Linked DNA regions of Homo sapiens: regions 1, 2, 3, 4, 6 and 7 are each linked to region 5. Evidence: promoter capture Hi-C in 16 types of primary human blood cells and fetal thymus (Javierre and others, 2016). All regions are on one chromosome and are shown on one strand. The core of a region is centred on a gene start or on the middle of the fragment in contact, and the rest is flanking DNA. Distances in the headings are between cores, read along the strand shown.

Region 1 (2,782 bases), core at 15-2,514, 3.4 Mb after region 5:
CTGAACACTAGAAGTATCTTTCCTTTAGTCACCAAGTGCCAGGTACTGTGAAGAGTTGTAGGAATAATGACTTCAATACTATTTATCAAGACCTAATAAGTGAGAGGCACTGTGCTAAGTTGCTAAACGTCTTATCCATTCACTAAAGTAAGTTCCATGATCATTTATATACTTAGTAGATGCCTAGTTGAACAGATATAACTAGGCATCTACTAGGTATATAAATGATCATGGAACGTACTTTACAGTATAGGGAGATAAAGAACACAGAAACAAACTAAATAACATAATTTCAGATACTGATGATGCTAAGAAGTCAATAAAAATAGGACAAAGTAAAGGAATGACTGGGGTGAGAGAGGAACTACTTAATCCAGGAGGATTTGGGAAAGCCTCTGAGAAGATGGCATCTGAGCTAAGATTTAACTGAGAAAGAGGCAATCACACAGAGAATAAATGATTACATGTAATTCTCATAACACCCTTTCTAAGTAGACTTTTTATCCCCATTTTCAAGATCGGGAAAGTAAAGTTGAAGTTTGCTGATATGCTAAGGTCACAGGCCCAAGACACAGCCAGGACTAGAACCCAGGTCTGCCTGACTCTGAGCTGAAGCTTTTCACCACTGGACTGCTCTATCTCCCAGGTGCTGGCCTCTGCTCACTCCATTCCCCCTGATTGAAATGCCCTTCTTCTCCTCAGCCCTGAAATTCCTCCTCCTCCTTTGACAATCCACAGGTCAACTTCTCTGAGAAGTTTACCCTGATAACCCCAAGAGGAAAACAACATCTCCCTCCTCCAAACATTTCCTACCCTTTGCATCCTCTCATGAAAACTATCTCCTGGTGGAGGTAAGTATGTACACTGCTTCCTTGCTAAGGCAGTGTTCATCTAATATGCCTGGTGTATCCCACGACATTTCCCAAACCCCAAGCCTACATGAATCCTTGCTTTCAGCATCTACAGGATAAATGAAAAGCAAGTAAATAAGTAAATGAAGTTCAGTGGACGTGGCCAGATGCCTGCAGGCCTTCCAAGTCTCACCAGGGTGTAGCACTGAAGTGGGATGCAACCATCAGGGCTGTTTCTAAACAAAATGTCCAAGGAGAGCCAAGAAAATGAAGCAGAACAACAAAAAAATCTTAATGAGATAGCTGAAGGCACACTAACCTGCTTTAAGTTGGCTTTTCATAAGCTGTGTCTGTGTTCCCTCCCCACAGTCAAAGAGCCAGCACTCGCCTTCACACCGAAGGACCACAGCAGAGGCACCCCGGGTTGGAGATGGGTATGCTGCACCCGTCCCCAGGAATGTCACATCCATAGACATCTTCCACCCTGCAACAGAAAGATCATCTGGGGATTATTTCATATCACTGTACCAAAAACATATTCCTGTAATATTTATCTCTATTATTACTTTTTGGTTATTTAGAACAGTCTGGATTCTTGGTCTCTCATAGTATTCCACACATATCCACAGTAAGGTTTTAATAACTTGGCTAAAACTACAAGTTAACAAATCTTGTATAATTGTTCACACACCCAAACAAACAAAAATAACCAAACCCAGGCAATTAAAAACTATAGCTGAATTCTAACTATATGATGTTCTCAAAAAGGCAAAACTATGGAGACAGTAAAAATCGTGCTTGCTAGTGATACAGGGTGAGAGAAGGAAGAATGAACAGGCAGAGCACAGGGGATGTTTAAGGCAGTGAAACGATTCTGTATGATACAGTAAGACAGACATATGTCATTATACATTGGTCAACTGTACACAGAATAAACACCACTAGAGTGAATGAGCTCTAATGTAAACTTTAGTTGACAGTGTATCTGTATCAATATTGGCTCAACAACTGTAACACATGTAGCACATTTTTCATTTTTTTTTCATGAGCCCTTAAGCTTCTGAACATATACCGCATTAATGCAAGATGTTAATAAGGGGAAACTGAGGGGTGAGGGATAAGAGAGTATATGGGAACACTCTGTACTTTCTACTTACTAATTTTTTTAAAAAAAATCCTTCTAATAAACACTAAACAACAACAACTCTAGTTGAGATACAGGGCAAGAGATGGTATTTAATGATACTCACCATATGGTGTCTCTGATGCCCATAATGATCAGCCCTTTCCCTTTCTCTGAACAATCATAACAGTAATGCTCTATTATGCTCTATAGTCATGCTGATATTTCACAATAATGCTGAACAAATGTCTCACTCCCTACATGACATGGTCCATGACTCACGAGGACTTGGGACTCTGCTATTTTAAGTGATCAGCAACAACCTGTTGAATGTGCAGGTTTATTCCAACTCCTGGCACTATTCCTTTCACTATTTCTAGGTACATCTGACATCACTGATATACTTCTGAGATGGAATATATGTATCAAACAGAATATATTAGAATGAACTGAAATTTATACATAACTGATTATAGATTATCCACATTGATGGCAGGGAAGAAAACAAAGAAGCTTAAGAAAAACTACTGTAAGAGAATTTGACTGACAGCTAGATATAAAATATACAAAAACTTCAGTAACTCTTCTCAGTCTTAGCAATAACAAGATAAAAACAGAAATGGGGGAAAAACCCATTCTAAGAGCAAAAACAAAATTACCAGAAATAAAGTTAGCAGGAAAGGAACAGCACCCAAAAGATTCACACGAATAAAAGATACACATTATGTCCCTGATAGGATGACTTGATATCACAGAGATGTTCATCCTTCCTAAGCTAATGTAGATGTATTTGGTGGAAATTCTATCA
Region 2 (2,799 bases), core at 133-2,632, 3.3 Mb after region 5:
TTGAACGGATCGCCTACCCATGCACGATTTTGTAACATGAATTGGTCATTTGGGAAAATATTGGTTCAATGAGTTACACAGATCTTCCCAGTGTTGACACACTTCCTCATACTGCCCCCCCCCCCACAGTCTCGCTCTGTAGCCTAGGCCCGAGTGCAGTGGTGCGATCCTAGCTTAATCCAGCCTTGAACTCCCTGGCTGAAGCAATCTTCTCACCTCACCCTCCTGAGCAGCTAGAACTACATGCCACTACACCTAATTTTTATATGTTATTGTAGAAACAGGGTCTCGAACTCTTGGCCAAAAGCAATTCTCCCACCTCCGCCTCCCACAGTGCTAGAAATATGGGTGTGCATCATCGTGCCCAGCCCAACATATTTTTTTTAATCACATTCCTTAATATCACCACCCATCTCATCAGAAAAGTCTTTAAGTATTAAGAAACTGGCAAGTCATAGTGACAGGAGTTTCCCAAAAATCTGATTTTCACTTGAAACATCAGATTTTAGCACTGGCTATAAATGTTCTCCTCGAAGTGGCCAGCTCACTTTATTCATTTCCAAGGAATTACCTGCCAAATACTCAAATCTAAATAGCTATCTGAGCTTATCTGTCATCCTGTTAAATAAAAATAAAAATGGTGTCCCACTAAAAAGCAGCTAGTTCAGCTTGCAGCTCAATAACACAAGTGCTTTTCCTAGAAAAGAACACTGTACTTCAATGTGCAGAAATGCTTTATGCATACTTCCCATTTAATCACACTATTAAAAAGACATACTCCAAGGTAGAGATTTTTTTAAAATTAAACCTTTTTACTGCTGCAGCAAGGGGATTATTAAGTGAAACCGGCATTTTTTCAAATGCTTATGTGTGTTTGACTATAAAGAACACAATGAGGACTCATATGTTTGGTATAACTGCCTAGAGTCATTTTAAAGTGCCAGCAGTTTACCCACCACTGCTCCTTCACCACCCATACAAATGTCCTCACAGTGAAAGGGCAAATAACGTCTCAGTTTCATTATGAAAATAATTTTGATTTTGTGAACCCCTTAAATATAAGGATCCTAGGGATCTCCAGGAGTCTGTGGACCATACTTTGGGAACCACTGTTTTAAAAGATGGTGGAAACCAAACTGAATTTTAATAACTGATAACTGAAAAATACATTTTATAAAACTTTTTTTGTTTTTTTGAGACAGTCTCGCTCTGTCAGCTAGGCTGGAGTGCAGTGGCACAATCTCAGCTCACTGCAACCTCTGTCTCCCAGGCTCAAGCAATTCTCTTGCCTCAGCCTCCCAAGAAGCTGGGATTACAGGCATGTGAGTAGCTGGGATTACAGGCATGTGCCACCATGCCCAATGAATTTTTGTATTTTTAGTAGAGACGGGGTTTCACCATGTTGGTCAGGCTGGTCTCAAACTCCTGACCTCAGGTAATCCGCACCCCCCTTGGCCTCCCAAAGTGCTGAGATTACAGGCGTGAGTCACCGCACCCGGCCTCATTTCATAAAACTTTTAACTGAAGCAGAGTTTCAAGTCATCTAGCTTATTCCTTCAAAGGGGGATGTATCAAAATCCCCCGCAGGTTAGGCCAGCTCCACTAACTAGAATCAAGGGTGGGGCTGTACCTTTAAAAAACACTCTGGAAGTCTGAGGTACTGTTAGTTTTACAAAGCATTGATCTAGTCTACAATCTTTACTTTACAAATTAAGTATCATGAGTATATGCAACTGATTAAAAAGACTAATTATATAGAAGTTGTATCATTTTTCCTTACAATTAGCCAGCCCCTTCATTATTTCAGCATCTATACACATTCTTCCTTCAACTAGTTTTAGTAGGCATATTTATGATGTAAGACACACCTAATGTGTTTATGTACAATGATTCCTGGCTTAGCTTACCCCATTAAATATTATTTCCGGTCATCCTTTCACTAGATTATTCAATTTTTACAAGGACTGCCCATCTACTGATAACATATGCTCTAGAATTCACTAGTGAATATCACTGACAAATATCCTTAATTCATCTTATATTTAGAAATACATTTTGACTTGAAAAGACCTGAGTAGCATACATTCATCCATATTAACATACAGAAATAATACCTTACTATAAAAATATATATTCGGTAGCATTCCTAGTTTTAAATCATAAATAAGATTTGGCTAGCCTGGGCAACAAAGCAAGACCCCCGCCCCCCCATTTCTACAAAACAGTTTTAAAAAAATCAGCCAGGCGTGGTGGTGCCGGCCTGTAGTCCTAGCTACTCTGGAGGCTGAGGCAAGATCTCTTGAACCCAGAAGTTGAAGGTTATAGAGGGCTATGATGATGTTACTGCACTCCATCCTGGGCAACCTGTCTCTAAAAAATAGATAAATAAAGCAGTAAGGATAAGCATACCAAAATAAACAAAACCTTTAGAATCAAGAGGCACTTTTTAAAAATAACACAGATTCCCATGCCTCCTCCACTCCATTCCCATTCTGAAGCAGCATGTGTGTTGCAATCAGATGGGAAAAAATATTTTTATTTTTTTAAATAGCTCTTCCAGAGACAGAGATGAAACTACTCCATAGCCCAGCACTTGGGAACTACTTCAGGTGATGTAAATGGAGAGCTGAACATGCCCTAGATGATCTCTACAGAAGTACTAGCTAGCTGGCCTAGCTGAGCAAATGTCTCACAGTGTATTAATTAAGCCCTGACAGAAAAAGCCCAATGCAACCTGCCTCTCAGAAACCAGTTAAGTGACTAGTTAATTGGGGGCTTGAAAATGTAAGGTTTACCAAG
Region 3 (2,700 bases), core at 194-2,693, 3.5 Mb after region 5:
ACTTGTAACAGAAACACATTAAGAGGTAACATAGTAAATAGCAAAGTGAGTTCCATTTTAATGAGTGAGAGTTTAGCTTGAAGGTGGAAAAGTAAATAATAAGAAAGCAGAGACACAGAGGAAGAAAAACTATCCTGATTCTTAATCTAGACCTAGAATTTTAATGGACTATGTTTAATGTTTAAATTTAACGTACTAGAATTTTTTGTCTTAGAAAACCTGTTATTTAATATAAACAAATCATATAAATTGGCTAGAAAACATATAAAGTAATTGTAATTACTTTATATAAAATAATGTATAAAATAATTGCATCCATCATAAACATGGACATTTTTAAAGAGAAAACTATACATTAAATCTAAAATATTTAGTGATAATAGTCTTCTACTTACCAATTATCTCACCAAAAATCAGAATTTGAAATGCTTATTTATTTCTTTAAACATTACAAATCATTGTAATTATTATGCTGTGAAGTTTTTTAAAATGGATTTCTATTTGTGGAGAAATCCATGATATGTGTGAAGGGGCAGCAAAACCATTTACATAAGGATTTTTTTTTTTTTTGAAGCTCATATATCATAAAAGTAACCATTTTAAACTGAACAATTCAGAGGCATTTCAAAAAAATTTTTTTTTTTTTTTTGAGATGGAGTCTCGCTCTGTTGCCCAGGCTGGAGTGCAGTGGCATGATCTCAGCTCACTGCAAGCTCCACCTCCCGGGTTCACGCCATTCTCCTGCCTCAGCCTCCCGAGTAGCTGGGACTACAGGCGCCCGCCACCACGCCCAGCTAATTTTTTTGTATTTTTATTTTTAGTATATAAGGGGTTTCACTGTGTTGTCCAGGATGGTCTCGATCTCCTGACCTTGTGATCTGCCTGCCTCGGCCTCCCAAAGTGCTGGGATTACAGGCGTGAGCCACCGTTCCCGGCCAAAATAGGGATTTTTTTTTTTGAGATGGAGTCTCTTTCTGTCACCCAGGCTGGAGTGCAACGGCGCGATCACGGCTCACTGCAACCTCTGCCTCCCGGATTCAAGCTATTCTCCTGCCTTAGCCTTCTGAGTAGCTGGGATTACAGGAACCCGCCATCATGCCCAGCTAATTTTTTTTCTGTATTTTTGTAGAGACAGGGTTTCACCATGTTGGCCAGGCTGGTCTTGAACTCCTGACCTCAGGTGATCCACCTGCCTCGGCCTCCCAAAGTGCTGAGATTACAGGCGTGGGCCACCGCGCCCGGCCAAAAAGGGATGTTTTAAATGTGTTGCTTGATCATTTATTCCTGGACACTGAAACACTCCAGTTTGCAAGTAACTTTGCTGAAGTTGTTTTCTGCCTCCCATACCACTTCCATCCATCAACCTTTGAAATCAAGTGTGATTTGATGTTTCAAGACCACTTGTATGAGGCTTAGAGTTTCATCAACACATCCATGTATGGATGGTAAGCCTGATATTAAATATGACGCAGTCAGGGTTAGAAGACCTTCAACATTGCCAAGAATGTTTCACTCATATTAAATAGTCATAGATGTAATTAAACTGTAAATAATTAAAGCATGAAGGACATAAATGAAAAGAATGTCTGAATGATTTAAAAGGTTTCCTGTTCTTTGTCAAAAAAGTGGAAAACACTGTACAGGTAGCCAGGCCAAGATAGTAGGGATGGTTTTGTTCACAGCTTCAAAGAAGAAATTTAAGAATTAATTGTGGGCCTTAAGAAAACACTGACAAAGAATGTAGAAAATGGGAAGAGCAGAAAGAGTAAGAGGAAAAGGCAGCAGTAGAAAATCTTCAATGTATTGTTAAAAAAATGATTTAATTTCTGAATATGTTCTGTCAGTAGAACAAAACTACAAAATCACACGTAGGAGATTTGAGACCCTTTTAAGAAATATCTGAGCTGTTCAAAAGACAGTAAGACAGAAAAATAACCAGTAGCTGAGCCTACACAAACTTTTTGAGTCAAACACAAGCCAATTACTTCCTCAGTTACCAAGGCTAACTACTGGGGAGGCATCAAACTCTAACAAATTCCTGATGGCCTTTTCAGGGGAAAGGTAACACAACATATTGAAATTATGTATTTTGCTCATCTGAATGGTCTTATTCATTAAGCAGGTGCTACATCATTATCCTCATCCTTTTTCATTGCTGGATTTTTATCATAGCCGTAATAGTGTAGCAGAAATAACCATGATGAAAAGTAAGTGTTCAGGTTTCTTTTTAGAAATTAATTTATGCTACCATCTTGATGCTTTAAGTTCAAAATACCATAAAATTACAATTTTGCATATACACTCTTTATTACTATTATTCTGTATATTTATGCTTATTATTTTATAATAAGTATTGAAGCAAATTTAAAGGTGTTTTTTTTTTTTTTTTTTTTTTTTTTTTGAGATAGAGTCTTACCCAGTTGCCCAGGCTGGAGTGCAATGGCACGATCTTGGCTCGCTACAACCTCTGCCTCCCGGTTTCAAGTGATTCTCCTGCCCCAGCCTCCCGAGTAGCTGGGATTACAGGTGTGCGCCACCATACCCAGCTGATTTTTTGTATCTTTAGTAGAGACAGGGTTTCACCATGTTGGCCAGGCTGGTCTCGAACTCCTGACCTTGTGATCCGCCCACCTCGGCCTCCCAAAGTGTTGGGATTACAGGCGTGAGCCACTGCACCTGCCCTTAAAGAGTAATTTTTTG
Region 4 (2,700 bases), core at 78-2,577, 3.5 Mb after region 5:
CCTGGGTTAAATAAAGTAGTCATTACTCTGCAACTGGTTGTGAATTTTCTGCATGATCATCTTAAGCTTTGAAAAATACTGTGCTTTCTTGCATTTACCTTTTATCCCCTATCTGTCCAGCATTCTTGCTTGAATTGAGCTATTTCATCTTTAAATGATACTATTTTGGGCTGAGTGAGGTGGCTCACTCCTGTAATCCCAGCACTCTAGGAGGCCAAGGTGGGTGGATTGCTTGAGCACAGGAGTTTGAGACCAGCCTGGGCAATATGGTGAAACCTCATCTTTACAAAAAAAAAAAAAAAAAATTAGCCAGGCCTGATGGGGCATGCCTGTAGTCTTAGCTACTTGGGAGGCTGAGGTGGGAGGATCACTTGAGCCCAGGAGGCGGAGGTTGCACTGAGCTGAGGTCGCATCCCTGCACTCCAGCCTAGGTGACAGAGTGAGACCCTGTCTCCAAAAAAAAAAAGCTACTTTGATCCAGTAATAGTTATAGTGAGACACTAAGATGTCTCATCAGTTAAAAGACCAAGGGGAATTATATACATCCATAGGTCTCCAGAAATAATGTAAGTGTGTAGTTATTTTTCAAGTATAGAGTTTTTAAAAATGAATGTTAAGGTCTAATATATAGTAGGTCAGGGCACACAGAATCAAAACAGTACTATGATTATCCTTACTACTATTATTACTAATCTACTACTAGTAGTTTATACTTGACATCCTCAATTTGACCTAATAAGAGTTAATGAGCTATTCTAAAGGAGGAAATATAAATGAAGATATTACGACAGGAACAAGATTTTTGTGCATTTTAACAGTAACTGTTAGAAATGATTTTTAGCTCCCAACAACAGAAAACCCAATTAGAGTTGATTTATACAAATATGGGCTTTTTCACAAAAATGTGAGGGTAGGATTTAAGGCTAAACATGGCTCAATCACTTTCTGGATAATCCTTGAGAGAAGGAAAGAATCTCTTCTAAATGCAGGGTCTCTCCAGTAAATGAAGATAAAACCTGACAATTTTTGACTAGAACTATGGCTGAGCAAGAAATATAACTCCAAGCAGAGTATAAGTTATCCATAAATTAGACACCCCAATTATAGATAATCAGGGAATGATAGAAGGAAGGTTGTTTGGATTCCTATGGGGTGGGAGTGGAAGGCATGGAGGGGATGTTTGAAAATTATCTGGACAAATGCCTCAGTTCTTCAAATTTTTTCTTTTTGCTTTTGTTTTATTTTGTTCATTTACTTATTTACATCGAAGGAAAAAGCACACTTTGGGAGTGTGGAATACTTGAATTCTAGGGCTAGCTCTCACACTGTCTTAATAAGAGGCTGGATGTCTTTTTCTCCGGTTAGGTGGACACAATTAAACTTTCCCTATGTATCTCAAAGGGCATTGAAAAGAGGAATGAGACACAAAATATGCAAGAGTTTTGTGAATATTAAAAGGATACAGATGCAAAGTATTCTCATGCAGGCTGTCTGCCTGGCATATAGATGATGTTTGATAAATAATAATTACCATTCATTGAGTACTTACTATTTGCTAAGCGTTGCTCTAAGGCACCTAGTGTATTTTATTTATTTTTACTTTTTTTTTTCTGAGACAGGGTCTTGCTCTATTGCCCAGGCTGGAGTGCAGTGGTATGATCTTGGCTCACTGCAACCTCTGCCTCCCAGGTTCAAGCAATTCTTCTGCCTCATCCTCCTGAGTAGCTGGGATTACAGGTGTGTGACACCACACCTAGCTAATTATTGTAATTTTAGTAGAGACAGGGTTTTGCCATGTTGGCCAGGCTGGTCTTGAACTCCTGACCTCAGGTGATCCACCCTTGGCCTCCCAAAGTGCTAGGATTGCAGGCATGAGCCACTGTACCCCGCCCACCTCATGTATATATTAAAATTATTTAATTATCCTAACAACGCTATCAAGTAGGTATAATTATTTCTGTTTCTTTCTTTATTTTATTTTAGAGATGGGGTTGGGGTCTTGCCATGTTGCCCAGGCTGGTCTTGAACTCCTGAACTCAACGAATCCTCCCATCTTGGCCTCCCAACGTATTGGGATTACTGGCATGAGCCACCGTGCCACTCCTGTTTTTGTCGTTGTTGTTGTTCAAGATAGGGTATTGCTCTGTCACCCACGCTGGAGTGCAGTGCCAATTGTAGCTCATTGCAGCCTTGATCTCCCAGGGTCAAGCAATCCTCCTGCCTCAGCCTCCCAAGTAGCTGGGACTACTGGCATGTACCACCACAACCAGCTAATGTTTTTTATTTTTAGTAGAGACAAGGTCTTGCTATGTTGTTCAGGCTGCTCCTGAACTCTTGATCTCAAGCTATTCTCCCACCTTGACCTCCCAGAGTGCTGAGATTACAGGCATGAGCCACTGTGCCCAGCTGGTAGGTATAATTATTATCCCCATTTTACATATGGGAAAACTGAGGACTTAGAGGTTGATTCATCCAAGGGTACCACTAATAAGTGGAAAGAGGATACAAACTACACTGTACAGACTGAATATTTTAAAATATGTTTATGTACAGTTCAGTGTCTTGGAAAGATTTGAAAGTAAGCTTGGAGCATTATGTCACCCCACTCCCCAACCTGGGAAAGACTTCCCCGCTGTAAGCTGTCAATTAAAAACTGCTTCGTAATTCAAGGACAAATTCTAATCTCAGCTCTTCAGTGAA
Region 5 (2,794 bases), core at 117-2,616:
AATGCCGAACAGGCTACTGATTTTATTTTACAAAACCTTGAAAGAGAAAGCTGTTGTATTGGTCTCCGTAAGTGGGTGATAACATTTACTAGTTATTTCAACTCACAGGACAGACAAAAAGAAAATGCACAATTTAAGTTTCATTATGAAAAGTTTTCCAACTTTTCCCCAAAAGAGTATACAAAAGTAGAATCGTTCAATAAACCCCTATGTACTCATCATCCTGCTTCCAACAATCGCTGAACAGACCCCAATTGTAGCTAAAGTGGGTAGGGACCCACCCACTTCTCCCCACTTCAGCCACAGGATTATTTTGAACCCCACATATCTCATGCAAATCCCATATATCTTACCATTTCCTCCGTACAGGCTTCAGTTCGAATCTCCAAAAGAAAATCCATCACGCGGAAGAACAGAATGTTAAACTTATTGACAACAAATTTTAACTAACTTTGATTCAAAAACAGAATGTTCAGTGTTAAATAGCCAATGGGAATATCGCACAGGAAATTAAGAACAACTCTTGGAAATAGCTCTGTGACTGCTAAGTTAGGAAAGGGAACGTTTGTTTACTCGGCAGCAGAAAACCAGGAACCCACCGACCGGCCAGCGAAGGTCGCCCGTCTCCAGCAGTGCGCATCGTTCCCCTACCCCGGGCGCCCTGAATTCCAATTTTTCCAGTCCCAATCAGGCGACACCCTCCCTTTGGTGTTCCACCGCCCGTCAGTCACAGACACAGACAAGTTCTTCAGTGAGATGCTTTTCACTCCGAAACCATTTATTCAGCAGCCAGGGCGAGCGCAGCAATGGACTGAAGGAGAAGTGTTCCGAAGCGACAGCCCCAGAGCGCAAGCCCCTTCCTGTCGCCGCCTCAGGTCCGCAGACGCCCGTGTGAGCCCCCTCCGCCGCGTCCCGCGACCCTCCCTCGCCCAGGGGGCACTCCCCCTACAGTGTTCTTCCTTCCACAGAGACTCCACAAGCGCCCTCCCTCAGGAGACGTCTCCTCCTCTTTCCTCGCCACTCTCCTTTCGCCTTTTCTCGGCTGTCACAGGATGGGACAACCCTCGAAAAGACACCCTCCTTTCCGTCCTAACTCACCCCTAAGGCCCCAAAATAAAAATAAAGGAAAACAAAAACAAAAACCGCACACTTCCACAGCTCTCCGCCGAAAGCTCAGGCCTGTTACCCAACGCGAGACACCACAAAGCATCCCCAACCCGGACACCGCCCCGCCTCAGGCTCGGCTCACTCGCAGCTTCCTCCGCAGTCACAGCAGAGCTCGACACCCGCGCTCGCTTTCAAACCGCCCCAACATGGCGCCGGCCTGCGGTGCGCATGCGCGGCAGTGGGGCGCCGGGCGCGAGCGGAGATGAGGGAGCGGCCGGAGAAGAGAGGATGCTGTTGAGCGTTAGGTCGCGACCCCTGCTGGAAGGTGCTGTTTCTCCCTCCTTTCTGGGGCTGGGAATGGGGGGATGTGGGCTGCATCCAAGTCGCTGCCCCCCACGCCCTTCCAACCTCCGTCACAGCTATTCTCGGCCAGTTTGCGCGGGGACTTGCTGATCTCCCTTCAGCCGGCCCCGGGGTCTGCGGGAGGGGACTGGGTGGGGAGGGAGACTTAAGGGCGCTGGCGGCTGTCGTTCCGGTCGCTGAGAGTCTGCCCCACAGCTCCAGTTTTTCCAAGTGAGTTCAGCCTCCCCGCTTCCAGAGCATCCCCCGCCAAAAATAAGATATCGTCTCAGCTAGTAGGCAGTCCCCCCTCACCACTTCTTTCACTCCCTCTTCAGTGCCTTTCCTCTCACACCCCGGAGCCTCTCACACACAAAGCAGATGGGAGATTGGAGACCCGAGTTTAGCCAGGGATGGGATTTAACAAACTCCTAGGAAGCCTTGATTCCCAGGGAAGAATGGCAGTGACCCCGCACGGATTGGGGACCCAGTCAGGCAGCTCAGAAAGAGGGTCATTGTACAAACAGATGTAAAGACTCACTAACATGTGTGAACCTGTCTGTAAGTCTGGAAGGAATCCAGTTTCAACCAATTGGTGTATCAAAAAAAGAGGCCATCCCAATGTTGGTTTATGTTTATTTTCCACTGACCCTATGAGTGAAGATATCCTTGACCATGAGTCCATCTGAATATGTTCCAGCTCATCCGACGTTCCACCACCATGTAATACAATTGTAGTCTTACTGTTTGCACTTTCTTCTTTTTACCCTTTGTAGCCTACTAAATTTTACCTTCCCTTTTCTCTTAGCAAATGAAAAAGTCCGGAAGCTATAACGTTCAGTTTAGTGGTTAAACACAGGTCTATTGTGGCAGTAATAGTTGGTGATTTGAAAATAAGACATACCCTGCTAGTGGTATGTCCCAATAATCTTCAAAGTCTCTAGATCAATTAATATCAAGTAGGTTTCCAATAGGAAATCAAGAACGGTGTTTTATATGCTAAGACGAGCCCTGGTCGGGGATTAACAATCCTTGTTAATTGTTAGTGACGTAAGCTTAAAAACTTAAATTTTTGTATCCACGTTCCACCTAAGTGTCTTTTTAAACTGAGTTCCTTTAAAATAGTTTCTTAAAGATTCTTTTTATAAACAGTATCTTTTAAAGTTTTTTGTACTATATTTTTCTTTCATCTTGGGGCATATATGTAGCAAATGTTTCCTAATGAAGACAAAGTATAGATAAAGGACACTGAGAAGATATAAAGAAAATTATCAAATATATTGACCTAATTCATGGATCAAAATAATTCTACTTCTGCCTTGTTTCCTCACAGGTTAAGAGATATGGA
Region 6 (2,700 bases), core at 22-2,521, 3.3 Mb after region 5:
ACGATCTCGGCTCACCACAACCTCCGCCTCCCGGGTTCAAGCCATTGTCCTGCCTCAGTCTCCCAAGTAGCTGGGATTACAGGTGTGTGCCGCCACGCCCAGCTAATTTTTTTTATTTTGAGTAGAGACAGGGTTTCACCATGTTGGCCAGGCTGGTCTTGAACTCCTGACCTCGTGATCCACCCATCTCGGCCTCCCAAAGTGTTGGGATTACAGGCATGAGCCACCATGCCCGGCCCTTTGTACTATTCTTGCGACTTTTCTGTGAGTTTGATTTTTTTTTTTTTTAATTTTAGGTCACTTGTCCCTGTGATGAGGTTCACAGCAGAGCTGGAATTTGAACTCTCTGCCCACAGAGTGTGGCATGGTGCTATCTGCAACCCAAATAGCTCTACCCTGAAGCCAGGGCCTGGGAGGGCCTGCTGATCAGATGCCTCAGAGCAGCATTTCTCCTACTTTAACATGCACACAGATCACTTGGGGAGCATGTTAAAAAGTAAATCCTGATTCCTTGGATTTGAGGGTGGGCTGGAGACTCTTCATTTCTAATAAGCTCTCAAGTGAGGCCAATACCGCTGGTTCCAGAGGCAAAGCCCTAGAATCCAGGGTCTAGAACTGTGTAGGACCTAAATCTAAAATGTACTGGGGAGGGGAATAATGGAACACTAAATTATTTAGGAGACAGTTCACAGTCATGATTCTACCCACCTAAAATGCTTTGTGATGAAAGTTAAATTTTCGGACATCGTTTCCGTTGAATAAACATGTAGAGTGAGCCTACTGGTTGCCATATCTTAGAATGCAGAATTGAATGGCAATGGATATGAACTGAAACACAGTTTATCCAGTCTTTCCCTTCCCCCAGTAGACGCCAGATCAGACTTACATCTAGACAGATTTTAGTCCCTCAGGTGAACTTGGCATCTAACGGTTTTCCTCAGTGTCACAGGTACAAGAGAGAACATCACAAGCAGGGAGTGCTGGAAATGACAAGTTCATCCAAAACAAACCTGCCAGGCACGGTGGCTCACGCCTGTAATCCCAGTACTTTGGGAGGCCGAGGCAAACCATTTGAGGTCAAGAGTTTGAGACTGGCCTGGCCAACATGGCAAAACCTCGTCTCTGCTAAAATACAAAAATTAGCCAGGCATGGTGGTATGTGCCTGTAATCCCAGCTACTCAGAAGGTGGAGGCAGGAGAAGCGCTCGAGCCAGGGAGGTGGAGGTTGCACTGAGCTGAGATTGCACCATTGCACTCCAGCCTGGGCTACAGTGCTATGGTGTCATTTCAGTGATAAAAGTTAATGAATATCTGTGTTACTTTCAACTCTGAGGAGGAAAACAATCTACCTAAACACCACCAAATTATTTCCATATTCTTTAAGCATTTTTCTTATTTATTTATTTATTTTTTTTTGAGAGGGAGTCTCACTCTGTCACTCAGGCTGGAGTGCAATGACATGATCTCGGCTCATTGCAACCTCCACCTCCCAAGTTCAAGCAATTCTCCTCCCTCAGCCTCTTGAGTACTTGGGATTACAGGTGCTCACCACCACACCTGGCTAATTTTTGTATTTTTTAGTAGAGATGGGGTTTCACCGTGTTGGCCAGGCTGGTCTTGAACTCCTGACCTCAGGTGATCCGCCCACCTCGGCCTCCCAAAGTGCTGGGATTACAGGCATGAGCCACCGTGCCCGGCCTCTTTAAGCATTTTTCTTGGGAGACAACCTTGAGGAAAAATAATTTTAGCTTAGACCAGAATCACAGTTACTATTTTTTTTTAAACTTTTAAGAATAATCAAGAGTTACCTTTTTGAGGTAAGAATTAGGCCCAGCAGATGGGTATTGAAGAGAGAAGGAGACTGTGAGCGCTTGGGTGAGCACAGACCTCATGTCTGCTCCTCAGGACAAACTGTGTGTAAGGGGCAGAGAAGGGAGGGGATTCCAAGACCCAGCCCCTCCTCCAAGGAAAGATGGAAAATCCATCACTGCTCTGAGGCTCCCAGAACACTCGCCCCTCTAATGTCTGCTGTCCCTTTCTCCCAGAGCTGCTGCTGCCTCTCTGCTTTTCCTTCCTCCCCTTTCCTTTCCCTAGCCGACTTTTGCTTCCCTGGCACTTCTGACATGCTTCTCCCAGCTGCTGCCCTTGAACTGCGGCCCCCTTCCTTCCCTCTGTGCTGTACCACCCAGGGGAGCCGGCTCCCAGGATGAGCTGCAGCACAGTGCTTTCTCAGGTTGAGGGAGCCTCCTCCAGGGCTCGGGTACCAAGGCATCTACATCTTTAATCAGGAAGGAAATAGCACCACATAACCCTGGGCATAGGTGTTTCCCTCCCTCCTCCTTTTCAGGGAGGCTGGTTCCCAGGTCACCTCCTACCTGGTTCAACAATAACATCCCCCATCTTTAAGAAAAATGCTGTGGTTCAAAAGCCCCTCTGGGCCCAGCTGCCTTCCCCAGTACACAGATCATCTCCATTGCCAGGGAGCTGCAAAGTGGCTCTGCACTTGCCAGAGGCTACACTGGTTAGTTAGAATGCGGGTCCTGACTGCAGGCCTAACCACAGTCCACAAAAGCTCCCCAGAGAGTGTTCTTTGTTGGTAGGTTTGAAACAAAGGCCCAGGAATGCGGCTTACACAGTCCTGACCCTACAGCTGGCCCTCCATCCTCACTGCTCTCCCAGGAGAAGATGGGAACTGGCTTC
Region 7 (2,822 bases), core at 323-2,822, 3.3 Mb after region 5:
AAAATTATTTTAAATAGGATGTGATAGTGAAGATGAGGAAGTTAAAAAGATCTAGCTCTGCTGTCCAATCAATATACCATTTACTGGTTAAAAACAAACAAAAAAACTATCAGTCTACTTTCAAATTTTTTCAAGAGCTTTTATAAACCAAGAATCATTTCTTTTCAAGAACACCATCATATTCCCAGATGTACAAGAAATTAATTGCCCTCTCTGTATGTAATATACCAAGAGAATCAAGCTTCTCTTGGCTTGTATTCTATTCAAAAACCATCCTATGATATTGCTTACTGTCCTACATTTTTAAGGCTTTTTTTTTAAAGTGGAAATTTGGTTTCTTAAAGAGCATTAATTAACTCGACTGTTAATCCTATTTGGAAAGCACTAAAGTTATAATTATTTATAACTGGCATCACCTCATTCTTTTCTAAATGGGAGTATAATCAGATGGAAGAGAGTAACATGTCACCATTGCTCAAAGTATCAAAGAAAAGGAATATTTTTCTTTTCTTTACATATCACATTTCCTTAAAGCTAAGAATTACAAAACCAAAAGCTAAAGAGAATATTTCAATACTCCCCAAATTATTTATCTGTAAAAATGACATTTTAGCAACCTCCCTTCCTACTCATCCCCCAGATTCTGCAAGTTATCTTTAAAGGTTAATTATGGTTTTGTTCATATTTTTAACAATTCTACAGGCAATACTCTTAGCTAACTTACAAAAATTGTCATTAACTACACAGGATAAATTATTTTAATTTACAGGTATTTAAAAGGAAATTCTTAAAATATTCAGGTGTCAAAAGAACATAAATTGTAAAGTGACTCACTGTAGTTATCCATACTGAATACTTCCCTTATACAATTCTAAGTATGTAAAATAAAGTTAAACAATACGACTAAATCAGCTCACGTAAAATAGCCTTTCAAATCTTCTATTTTAGTTCAACTTCTTTTCATCAATATACTTTTTGAGACCTAAGGGAACCCTCTTTTTTTTTTTTTTTTTTTTTTTTGGAGATGGAGTCTCGCTGTGTCGCCCAGGCTGGAGTGCAGTGACTCGCTCTCTGCTCACTGCAAGCTCCGCCTCCCGGGTTCACGCCATTTCTCCTGCCTCAGCCCCCGGAGCAGCTGGGACTACAGGCGCATGCCACCACATAAGGGAACATTTTGACACAAGTTCTAAAACTTACAGTATTTACGGTATTCGATTATTAAAATCTACCCAATAAATACCAGGATAAAATTAGCTGCATTTCATTTCTATCACTTTTTCTAATCTTTGAATAGGATTCAACCTCAGGAAACAACACAGTCAAAATGAAGTCACTTTAGTAAGCATTGACAAAGGCACAGAAATTCAATCTCCAGATAATATAAACAGAAGTAGGTAGCTGTGCTCTAGCACTAATCTACGTTCAAGTGGCTATAATGTACCTTCTTTTATTTTCTATCACTACCCACTGTTTGTCAACCATATTCCTAATTTGGTAAATAAAAAGTAGACAGATAATAGAAGCACCAAGTGATTAAGGAACTGGGTTCTCAAGTGCTTAACCTATATGACCCATTTAGAATATGCTGCCTATAGTGAGACTGTCATCTCTTAGATAGCAAACCAAAAACATGTTGCTTTGAAGTGGTGTAATGAATTAAAGGGGAAATTCTGGTATACTTCACTTGAAAACTCACAATTACAGAAATCAGTCCCCCATTTATTCCAAAGATCAAAATTTCTATGTTGAATCTAATCTGATAGTAAAGCAAATACAATAATGGTACTTTCGGTAGCAACTAACACAGTATTAGCCCAGAGCTGTCAAAAATCTATTCTGATGTGGGTTTACATAAATTCCTTTAGCAACTGCATGCAACTAACACCATACACATGCCAAGACAATGCTCTATGATTAATTGAAAAAAAAAAAATGAAAAAAAAGCTACTTCATTTGCCAAGCAGCAAACTATCAAACCTTTGGTTACTGTGAAAATAAGTAACAGAACCAGGTCATATGATCATGCCCCCAAAAACCTGAACCTAGCAGCCCCTCTCCCTCCTATGACATGGCAGAAAAGAAGGATCTTTCTGAAACACTTTTTTTTTTTAATTACACATATATTTTAAAAAGAGATATAGAAGTTAGCTTATATCAAAATTGACTTAATTAATGTCTATCTTGAGCAATATATAACAAATTTGTCAAGATCCCTTTGCACAGTGAGAAAATCAGACAACTACTATAAGGTAATATTGTCCCAGAAAAACCAAAATAAGAACACCGCATTAAAAGAAAGGTTGCAATTCCATTAACACAGACCTTCATAAACATCTTGGATCAAAACTACTTGTTAATTATTTAAATATTTCTCCAAAATATATCTGGGAGCTTAAGAGGCTACTTACTGCTACATGTAATAGTAAAGTATAAATCAGATCATTAATTTAAATCAATATTATAATCAAAGCCATTACTTAAATTCCAAGTGATTGTGCATACCTGTTTAATACCTGTTTACCTATGAAAGATACTACAGTTACTTTTAATGTTTACTTACTTGGAGTTTCCCCCCAAGTGACTACACATAAATAAGCAATGATTAGGAAAACTCAACTTGCTGACTACATCTGATTCTAGAACTCACTTGTGGAAGCCACAGGAATGTTGGGAAAGTTGGCAGTGCTGGTAGCATTAGACTCAGATGGGGCTAACAGAGCTGGGGTGCTGTATGTCTCTGTCGATGCACGATTACTTGGTGGATGCTGGATGGTTTGAATTGAATGTCCTTCAGTGGACAACGATGGCTGTCCCTCAAAGTC

The links. Contacts are between HindIII fragments. The CHiCAGO score rates a contact against its expected background, and 5 or more counts as called.
Region 1: a contact is called between a fragment that was not itself captured here and the fragment with the promoter of STARD6 in region 5, in 2 of 17 cell types (naive CD8 T cells and activated CD4 T cells). The highest score is 5.8, in naive CD8 T cells.
Region 2: a contact is called between a fragment that was not itself captured here and the fragment with the promoter of STARD6 in region 5, in 6 of 17 cell types (naive CD8 T cells, non-activated CD4 T cells, total CD4 T cells and 3 more). The highest score is 19.2, in naive CD8 T cells.
Region 3: a fragment that was not itself captured here is called in contact with the fragment with the promoter of STARD6 in region 5 in 1 of 17 cell types (naive CD8 T cells); the score reaches 5.5 in naive CD8 T cells.
Region 4: a fragment that was not itself captured here is called in contact with the fragment with the promoter of STARD6 in region 5 in 3 of 17 cell types (naive CD8 T cells, total CD8 T cells and total CD4 T cells); the score reaches 13.7 in naive CD8 T cells.
Region 6: a fragment that was not itself captured here is called in contact with the fragment with the promoter of STARD6 in region 5 in 2 of 17 cell types (total CD8 T cells and total CD4 T cells); the score reaches 6.8 in total CD8 T cells.
Region 7: a contact is called between a fragment that was not itself captured here and the fragment with the promoter of STARD6 in region 5, in 2 of 17 cell types (naive CD8 T cells and non-activated CD4 T cells). The highest score is 7.6, in naive CD8 T cells.

Annotation. Positions count from the first base shown.
Region 1 is chr18:50,972,950-50,975,731 of GRCh38, reverse strand. ELAC1 (elaC ribonuclease Z 1) reads right to left here. Exons shown (of 4, transcript NM_018696.3): 2 at 1,171-1,335. The coding sequence starts at 1,327. It also overlaps a transcript of LOC107985152 not described here. Among named protein-coding and RNA genes, the nearest start is that of ELAC1, 6.3 kb to the right of the region's middle. The HindIII fragment of the contact is 1,293 bases long and covers 618-1,910 here.
Region 2 is chr18:51,035,578-51,038,376 of GRCh38, reverse strand. All of the region lies in intron 1 of SMAD4 (SMAD family member 4), which reads right to left. Among named protein-coding and RNA genes, the nearest start is that of SMAD4, 6.8 kb to the right of the region's middle. The HindIII fragment of the contact is 9,660 bases long and covers 1-2,799 here.
Region 3 is chr18:50,892,826-50,895,525 of GRCh38, reverse strand. The region is part of intron 1 of ME2 (malic enzyme 2); the gene reads right to left. Among named protein-coding and RNA genes, the nearest start is that of ME2, 15 kb to the right of the region's middle. The HindIII fragment of the contact is 5,661 bases long and covers 1-2,700 here.
Region 4 is chr18:50,872,520-50,875,219 of GRCh38, reverse strand. No RefSeq gene overlaps it. Among named protein-coding and RNA genes, the nearest start is that of ME2, 5.2 kb to the left of the region's middle. The HindIII fragment of the contact is 2,517 bases long and covers 69-2,585 here.
Region 5 is chr18:54,356,430-54,359,223 of GRCh38, reverse strand. STARD6 (StAR related lipid transfer domain containing 6) reads left to right here and starts at 1,366. Exons shown (of 8, transcript NM_139171.2): 1 at 1,366-1,432; 2 at 2,780-2,794. C18orf54 (chromosome 18 open reading frame 54) reads right to left here and starts at 1,318. Exons shown (of 9, transcript NM_001288980.2): 1 at 1,149-1,318; 2 at 354-450. RefSeq lists enhancers at 732-801, 303-814. The HindIII fragment of the contact is 3,120 bases long and covers 1-2,503 here.
Region 6 is chr18:51,017,222-51,019,921 of GRCh38, reverse strand. All of the region lies in intron 1 of LOC107985152 (a long non-coding RNA gene), which reads left to right. LOC124904303 (a long non-coding RNA gene) reads left to right here and starts at 1,636. Exons shown (of 2, transcript XR_007066372.1): 1 at 1,636-2,700. The HindIII fragment of the contact is 8,731 bases long and covers 1-2,700 here.
Region 7 is chr18:51,054,819-51,057,640 of GRCh38, reverse strand. SMAD4 (SMAD family member 4) reads right to left here. Exons shown (of 12, transcript NM_005359.6): 5 at 2,648-2,822. Among named protein-coding and RNA genes, the nearest start is that of SMAD4, 26 kb to the right of the region's middle. The HindIII fragment of the contact is 2,657 bases long and covers 244-2,822 here.